3 separate regions of the Homo sapiens genome follow, and regions 1 and 2 are each linked to region 3. Evidence: promoter capture Hi-C in 16 types of primary human blood cells and fetal thymus (Javierre and others, 2016). All regions are on one chromosome and are shown on one strand. The core of a region is centred on a gene start or on the middle of the fragment in contact, and the rest is flanking DNA. Distances in the headings are between cores, read along the strand shown. Region 1 overlaps LOC105371589 (a long non-coding RNA gene). Region 2 overlaps LINC02693 (long intergenic non-protein coding RNA 2693). Region 3 holds the start of TMEM11 (transmembrane protein 11).

Region 1 (2,787 bases), core at 262-2,761, 310 kb before region 3:
GCCACCGCCCAGAGCAGGTTCAGGATTGAAATGCCCCCGTGGTTCCCCTCCCACCCGAATGCTCTATTTCAAAATGAAGGTCCAGGACAAGGGGAGAGCATGTCATTACTAAGGTTCAGTGTTAAATAGAGACGTTCTTCCACCGATGACAGCCATGATGGGCCACCTGAGCTTTCTTTGGTTTTCCCTGCCATCTGCATGGTCCTCCATTGCACTTGAACAAGGAGTCCTGAGGGTCCAAGTAACTTGCAGAGATTGCTGTGCTGCCAGGAGCGAGTGAAAGAAGAGGCGAGAGCAGCTGCCTCAGCTAAAAAGAAAGCCAGAGGAGAGGGTGGGTATTTAGGGAGCGGGGATTTTTAATTTCAAGTGAATTCTGTAATTAAGGACAAGGGGTGGTGGTGGTGGGGCTCGGGGCTGGGTGCTCTGGCACTGTCCCTAACCGCAATCACAGTGATGGCTTTGCTCCTGTGCTGCCGTCCCTCCTCCCTCTCAGCAATAGGAAGAACGTGTGTGCTTTGATGCACGTGGTGCAGCAGGCCTGGAATGCCACATTTCACACAAACTTCAGGTGACCCCAGTGCTGCTGATGCATGGACCACGCTGTGAGTAGCAAGGTCACAAACTCCCTTGAGGGAGGGGAGTAGCTGGGCTGGGTTTCTGAGAGACCCTATTACGATTGGACTACTTTGGGCCTCCCTTCTTGAGAACCCAAAACAGCTGCTGGGTGTGCTGAAGCCATATTCACCCCACCACAAAGAGGACAGTCAGCACCTTTCTCCACACAACGGTATAAGGTTTTGTTTTCATATAAAACCTCAACAGATGAATGGGGCCATTATCAATCATTTTCAGAAAGAAAGGCTCAAATACCAACTATTTATTTTTTATGGAGTCTTGCTCTGTCACCCAGGCTGGAGTGCAGTGGCACGATCTCCACTCACTGCAACTTCTGACTCCCGGGTTCAAGCAATCCACTCGCCTCAGCCTCCCAAGTAGCTGGGACTACAGGTGTGTGCCACGCCTGGCTAATTTTTGTACTTTTAGTAGAGATGGGTTTCACCATGTTGCCCAGGCTGGTCTCGAACTACCCTGACCTGAAGTGATCCACCTGCCTCTGCCTCCCAAAGTGCTGGGATTACAGGTGTGAGCCACTGTACCCAGCCCCCAAATACCAACTATTCTTTTAAAAAAATTATGAGTATGTTGGAGGCACAGTGGCTCATGCTGTAATTTCAATACTTTGGGAGGCCAAGGCAGGCAAATTGCTTGAGCCCTAGTGTTGGAGACCAGCCTGGGAAACATGGCGAAACCCTGCCTCTACAAAAAGTTTTTAAAAAATTAGCCGGGCATAATGGCATTCATCTATAGTCCCAGCTACTCAGGAAGCTGAGGTGGGAGGATTGCTTGAGCCCAGGAGGTTGAGGCTGCAGTGAGCTGTGATGGCACCACTGCACTCCAGCCTGGGTGACAGAGTGAGACCCTGTCTCAAAAAAAAAAAATATATATATATATATATATAATATATTTATTATATATATTTATTTATTATATATTATATATGTATATATTTATTATATATATATATATTATGTTGGGAGAGATGTCCCTCATAATTAAACTAGGTTAATACAGATGATTTTATTTAACAGCTGAAATGGTTCTGTTACCTGGGAGCTTGTTTTATATTTAGTTGATCTTGGAGGATCCATCATGAACCGCCCTAGAAGCGCCCACAGTTACATGTTCCATGAGTGCTTGATGGAAAACCATGTATTTCTGAGGCTCTGGTGGCAGGTAGCAGTTATGCAATGGCATGAGGAAAATCCATTTAGTAGAGTTGTCCAAAAGTGCAATGGCCTGGCTCGGTAAGCTGTAAATTCTCTGTCCCTGTGAGGGGTAGAAAGTGAGGATGGAGAAGGAAGGAATATGCCAGACAGGGGTTGAACCAGATGGGCTTCTTCCAGCTGTCAGCTTCGTGACTACGGGTACTGTCCATGTCTCCAGGATCCACCTGGGATGCCTCTGATAATGTAACCACGTACCCCCATTTTTCTTAGGCAGTTTATTCCAACAAGTGAGCTATGGTGCAGGCATTGGGCCATGCGGTATCTGTTTGACTTTCAGGGCCTTAGGTCAGCTTGGTGGAGTTCTCTGGGTCCCTCTAGAGAATCATCCAACCCAGGGATGGCCTGCAGGGTCCCGCCCCACCACTAAAGCACTTACATTCACACAAAATCCTGGAGCTGAATGTTCTCAGCAGGCTTATTCCTCATAGCCAAAAGCTAGAAACAAATCCAGAGGTTCTTTGAGGAGCGAGTGGTGAAACAGTTGGGGTCATTGTGGAAATGGAGGGAAGCCTTTGGAGAGATGTATAGGAAGAACGAACAGGACTCGGTAATGGATTATTCATGACATGGGGGGATACAGGCTGAAGAAACTCTCCTAGAGTCTGGATTGGGGTCCCTAGGTGAGCCGTCACACCATTTATTTAGACAGTAAGTCTGGGTCACAGCCAAGTCAAGGAAGATGACCTGGACAATAGAGTGGGATCAGTTTTAATCTGTAATGTCAAAGAGGCATTTCAGTCTGGAAATCAGCTAGGCAGCTGTACATATAATTCTGAGTGGAGATAAAATCTGGAGGTTGTAAGAATAGAGTTAATAATTAATGCTTTAAATATCAATTTGGTCACCCAGAGAGCTTGGGGTTCTTTTTTTCTGGCATACCAATAAAAGAATAACAGAGTCCAGGGGTGAGTTATGACGCACTTCAGATTTTAAATCCCAA
Region 2 (2,881 bases), core at 295-2,794, 330 kb before region 3:
GAGTTGGGATGTTTCTCTGTCTCCCAGGCTGGATTGCAGTAGCATGATCACGGCTCACTGCAGCCTTCACCTCTCAGGCTCAAGTGATCCTCCCACATCAGCCTCCTAAGTACCTAGGACTACAAGTGCGCACCACCATGCTTGGCTAAATTTTTTAAATCTTTTGTAGAGATGGGGTCTCACTCTATTGTCCAGGCTGGTCTTGAACTCCTAGCCTCAAACAATCCTCCTGCCTCAGCCTCCCCAAGTGCTGGTATTACAGGGTAAGTTGCTGTGCCCAGCCTAATTTTTTTTTTATTTTTAAACAGCTTTATTGAGGAAAAATTCACATACCTTATGATCTGCTAGGGTTTAGTATAATCACAGATATGTGCAACCAAAACCATGGTTAAGTTTACAACATTTTTATTAGTCCTGTACCTTTTAGCTATCACCCTGTTCCCCCACCCCTACCCCAGCTGTAAGCAATCACAAATCTAGTTTCCATCTCAATAGATTTTTCTTCCCTGGGCATTTCATATAAATCAATCCATATAAGTGTTTTTTCATGTCTGGCTTCTTCACATTTGTCTCATCCAGAAGGTGCCTGAATTTTTCCACAACTGGGAATACTAAGCTGTGGGGTGAATTTTTGGTTCCCAAGTGAATGTGAATGAGGCAGATTGGAAGGAGAGTTCTTTTACTGAGGGAACGGGACAAGAACCAATGAAAGAAAGAGATCCAGCAGGAGGGGAGGGAGGAAGCGGGGTGGAGAGCTGCTTGAAGCAGATGAACAGAGCTCTGGGCCATGACAGCAGAATAGAAGGTGCCGTGCAGTGGGGTGCAGGTCCTGAGGGGGAGGGAGGGGGAATGTGGAAAACAGCAGGTCATAAACTCTGAATTCCAGCTGCTGGAGCTGTGGGTCCCAGGGGCCTGGTTATCCCCTCACAGGCAGGAGCTGGAAAGTGGGGCTCTGCTCAGGTCCAGGAAGGAAGTGGGTGCACGGGTGGTGTGGACATGTGCATGGAAGCCCACAGTGCCCACAACGTGAGGTCAGAACTTCAGGGAGAACCTGCATTTGGGCTCCAAGCTGGTTGGAAGTATTCTTTCATTCAGCAGCCTTCTCATTAAGTGCCTGCTGTGTGACAGACACTGCAGAGCACAGAGATGCAATCTTACCTGTCCCAGCCTTCCAGGCACCAGGGGTGCCACGCGCTTTCAAACAACCAGCTCTCATGTTTCATAGAGCAAGAACTCACTCACTACCACTGGGAGAGCACCAAGCCATTCCTTCCAGGGACTTGCCTGGAAGGCTGGGACATGGTTATTTTCCATCTCCCCACGGTTCATGGAACTGTATTCTGCATAGAATGGGCAAAGTACAACTATCATTGATTAGTAATTGAAGAAACAAAGATTTTACCTTCATGTTTTTTACAAAATGCAATATCTGAGATGTAGCATTCTATATCTTTGGCTTCTTTAATGTTAGCTATACAGACAAAATAGAAAATGAAAAAAAATTTTCCAATATTAAATATTCACATTGATGTCTGTATTAGTCTATTTTCTGTTGCTATAAAAGAACACCCGAGGCTGGGTAATTTATGAAGAAAAGAGATTTATTTGGCTTATGATTCTGCAGGCTGTACCAGCCTGGCACCACCATCTGTTTCTGGTGAGGACCCTAGGAAGCCTCCAGTCATGGTGGAAGGGGAAGTGGAGCAAGGAAGAAAGGAGGTGGGGTGCCACGTGCCTTCCAACAACCAGCTCTCATGTTTCATAGAGCAGGAACTCACTACCACTGGGACAGCACCAAGCCATTCCTGAAGGATCTGCCCTCAAAGACCCAAACACCTCTCACTAGGCCCCGCTTTCAACATTGGGAATCAAATTTCTTTCTTCTTTCTTTCTTTCTTTTTTTTTTGAGATGGTATTTCGCTCTGTCACCCAGGCTGGAGTGCAGTGGCATGATCTCAGCTCACTGCAAGCTCTGCCTCCCAGGTTCATGCCATTCTTCTGCCTCAGCCTCCCGAGTAGCTGGGACTACAGGTGCCCACCACCACGCCGGGCTAATTTTTTGTATTTTTAGTAGAGACGGGGTTTCACTGTGTTAACCAGGATGGTCTCGATCTCCTGACCTTGTGATCTGCCTGCCCCGGCCTCCCAAAGTGCTGGGATTACAGGCTTGCACCACCACACCCATCCTAGGCCCCATTTTCAACATTGGGAATCAAATTTCTTTCTTCTGTTTTGTTTTGTTTTGTTTTGTTTTGTTTTGTTTTGTTTTGTTTTGTTTTGTTAAAGAGATAATCTGACTCTGTCACCCAGGGTGGAGTGAAGTAGCGCAGTTATAGCTCACTATAGAAGCCATGGCTGAGCTGAGCCGTAGCTTACTGTGGCATCCAACTCCTGGAGCTCCAGAGGTCCTCCCACCTCGGCCTCCTGAGTAGCTGGGATAACAGGCTCAATCCACCATGCCCAACTAAGTTTTTAATTTTTTGTAGAGACAGGGTCTCACTAGGAGGTCAAATTTCAACATGAGATCTGGAGGGGACAAATATTCAAACTGTATCAATGTCAACAGGTTTTTTTTTCCTCATAAAAGAGTATCTATGTGTTAGGAACTTTAGATGTTCAAAAAGTGGTGGGGGGAAGAAATATATAATAAGGGACACACACTTTATAATTTCCTCACATTTTAAATTACTCCAATAACTAATACATAGATGGATTTATGGGTCTGGAATTTTTTCAGTGAGACATTTGTTTATAATTAAAATATGGATTTTATCTCCTTATTCCTTTTTAATTCAGTCCGAGGCCTGAGCCACCATCAAAACCTTCCTACATTGAAGCTGGGGTTTTTCCCTGAAAATGTTGCTTGTTAGGAAAAAAGGAG
Region 3 (2,700 bases), core at 112-2,611:
TTCTTGATTGTGCTAAGGAATTTGAATCACACACTGTAGGTGATGAGGGACGGTGAGAGGATTGCAAGCAGCTAAAACTGTGGTAGAATGTCAGCTGGAAGGAAATCGAAAGGAATCCTCAACAAGGAGAGGGTCGCCTTTCCGTCTGCTGGCCCTCCTGCTGTGGCCTGCGGCGGGGTGGGAAGGGGGGTTCCACTACACAGAAGTGTGACGCGCAGGGCTGGGCTTCTTCTAGGCTGAATTCGGGACAGATTTTCGCATTTGTTTTGCTCAAGTATTTATGGGACCAATTAATATGTTTAGCAACGTTGTCTGTGGGAGCAGTAGAGGAACTGAGAAGTTCACAAACTGTAAGAGATCCTCCAAAGAGTCCACAGGTCTGAGGCAGCAGCACCTGGGAATCTCTGGGCTCCAGTTAGTCCTTCCTGACTTTGACTCGTTACAGCAGTGTCCAGACAGGGATATGTCGGGTCCTGTGGCAGGGTTCCCGTCAGGTGGGATGGTTTAGCCCCGCATCTGCCTTCAAAGATCCCGAGATTATGCCGTCGCAGCGGCCAGGGCAGGAGTGGGTGCGTGGCAGGGACTGAGTCTAAGAGGCCTGGAGGCCCTGTCTAAAACAGAGCTGTCGCTGGGCCCTCTCGCCTTCAAGCAGTTATCATACAGCTATTCCCCTTTCTTGTTTTCAGACCCTCTCCTCTAACAGCCTGCACCTGCAAGCAGGGACCTCCGTGGCAGCAGGGACAGCGTGTCTGTCTCGGCCTCCAAAGTACCCCGGAGTCTAAGAGAACTGGGGGAGGATGGTGCGGGAGCAGCGCCCGCCTCCAAGGAGGGCCCGGGCGGCGCCTCCCGCCCCTCGGTGACCTTATGGGCCAAGGCTGTGAAGGGCAGGCGTGGCGACGCGGAGGGGCCCGGCGCTAGTAGCCCGCAGACAGCGCGGCGGCCCCCAGCGGGAGAGGCAGCCTGGCGGCCAGGACAGCGCGGCCGGGCGCCTCCGCGCAGTGCTCTGGGAGTTGTAGGCACTTGCCTCTCCTCTCTCCTTCAGCTACTGGCTCTCGAAACTCAAGGACCTACCGGTGGGTGGGCGCCTGTGACTCCCAGGCTGCGAACGCCGGGAACTCAGTTTCTTCAGAAATGCTCGAACCAGGACGGCTCCTGGAGTCCTCGCGCCCTCGCAGAAGGACTACGGGCCCCGGCGACCCCGGGGGCGGGGCTTCCGGCGCGCTGCCTTGTGGGCACGGTAGTTCCGCCGGGTCTGGCTTCCGCCTGCCGAGCGGCCCCGGACCGCAGGCCGGACTACACTTCCCGTCGGCCCGCCTGCTCTCCCGATGCCGCCTTGGCGCGAGACGTTGGCAAGCAGAGTGTCTCCAAGATGGCCGCTTGGGGAAGGAGGCGTCTTGGCCCGGGCAGCAGTGGCGGCAGCGCCCGAGAGAGGTGAGATCCAAGGGCTTGTTGCCCCCAGTGCAGGCGGCTCAGCGGCCGGAGAGCCCAGCGCGGCCTCCGAGGGCTGCAGCAGCCTTCCTTCCCTGGTTTCCCCGCGCTCCCCCTACCCTCGCCGGGCATACTGGGTTCCAGTTCCGGAGGATCCGGGATCCGGGTGGGAGCGAGGTCGAAGGCCTCGGCGGAGAGCTTAGGGGAAGGGGCGTTAGCCGGGCTGAGTAAGGTAGGCAGCGGCCATGCGGGGCGGGGCCCGAGGCCGGGCCGTGCTGAAAGGAACTGGCGCCCAGCGCAGGCCTCAGGGACCCGCCTAGCTGCCCGCGGGCCGATCGGCTGCTGAAGCACCCTTCCCGCCTGGGCACGCGCGTGGCCATCTCGGCCGCGGCCCCAGACGTGTAGAGGAAGGCAGGGCCCCCGGAGAGAGAAAGAAGGGGAAGCCTTCACAGAGCAGGCCGGCCGCGGCAGGGGTAGTTTGATCTGCACGTTTACTAGGGAGCTTTAGCTCCCGCCAGATGTGTCTCTTCCGAGCCCAGAGCCGGCCACTTCCTCGAGGGAAGATTCTGAAGACTTTTGGATGGTTCTGTGCAAGCGCTCCTGCCGTAGAAGTCCTTTAAAGTGACCTTTCCTAATGAATGGTGTGTGGGCAGGGAGCTAGGAGCGTGTTTCTTCCAACAGGGACCTCCATTTGAATAACTGATTTCTAGAAGATGAGATTGGAGTAGTTTCCGTGTTTCATGTTCAAGTTGCAGTTTTTGCATCTGGGAAGCAGTTTCAGCTAGTGGAAACCACTAGAAGCTGTTCAGCCACTAGAAATTTGGGAGAAGATGTATTGGTGGAGCCACCTGGATTAACTGTCCGCTAAAGCTTGATTGTTATAGCAGCGGTCAGCAAAAAAGGAAAAGTTTTTGTTTTGCTGGTTCTCCCCCTCCCCGTCTTTTTGGTGAGGATTGTCTAACAGAAAAGTTATCTTCCTCTCAACTACTCTGCATTATTCCTTTTCTGTGACTGATTCCATCCCGTGTTCATTGCTATTGCTTGCAGATGGCTTTCCCAGCTGGGAAGATTCTTCCTGTTTGGCAGTTGTGATAGAATCCTTTAGCTTGCTTGCACTTTATTCTTTAGCCCAGTTATCCAGCGTTGCCCATTCTGCATTTCCTCTTCCTTGGAAAAGCAGTGGTAAACACACTTTTGTTTTTCTAACTCCCGCCTGGTATTAGATTGGACCATTTAAATAAGTTACCTCAATGGTTTTCAGATGCTCTTAAA

What was found. Contacts are between HindIII fragments. The CHiCAGO score rates a contact against its expected background, and 5 or more counts as called.
Region 1: a contact is called between a fragment that was not itself captured here and the fragment with the promoter of TMEM11 in region 3, in 5 of 17 cell types (activated CD4 T cells, total B cells, neutrophils and 2 more). The highest score is 7.1, in activated CD4 T cells.
Region 2: a fragment that was not itself captured here is called in contact with the fragment with the promoter of TMEM11 in region 3 in 1 of 17 cell types (total B cells); the score reaches 5.2 in total B cells.

The regions. Positions count from the first base shown.
Region 1 is chr17:21,518,585-21,521,371 of GRCh38, reverse strand. LOC105371589 (a long non-coding RNA gene) reads right to left here. Exons shown (of 4, transcript XR_934332.3): 3 at 1,668-1,887; 4 at 103-307. Among named protein-coding and RNA genes, the nearest start is that of LINC02693, 32 kb to the left of the region's middle. The HindIII fragment of the contact is 6,064 bases long and covers 1-2,787 here.
Region 2 is chr17:21,544,088-21,546,968 of GRCh38, reverse strand. All of the region lies in intron 1 of LINC02693 (long intergenic non-protein coding RNA 2693), which reads left to right. Among named protein-coding and RNA genes, the nearest start is that of LINC02693, 6.2 kb to the left of the region's middle. The HindIII fragment of the contact is 3,454 bases long and covers 1-2,881 here.
Region 3 is chr17:21,212,822-21,215,521 of GRCh38, reverse strand. TMEM11 (transmembrane protein 11) reads left to right here and starts at 1,361. Exons shown (of 2, transcript NM_003876.3): 1 at 1,361-1,431. The coding sequence starts at 1,370. It overlaps TMEM11-DT (TMEM11 divergent transcript), which reads right to left and starts at 1,197. Exons shown (of 2, transcript NR_184102.1): 1 at 1,072-1,197. RefSeq lists enhancers at 380-589, 1,360-1,459 and silencers at 750-1,019, 1,140-1,279. The HindIII fragment of the contact is 13,322 bases long and covers 1-2,300 here.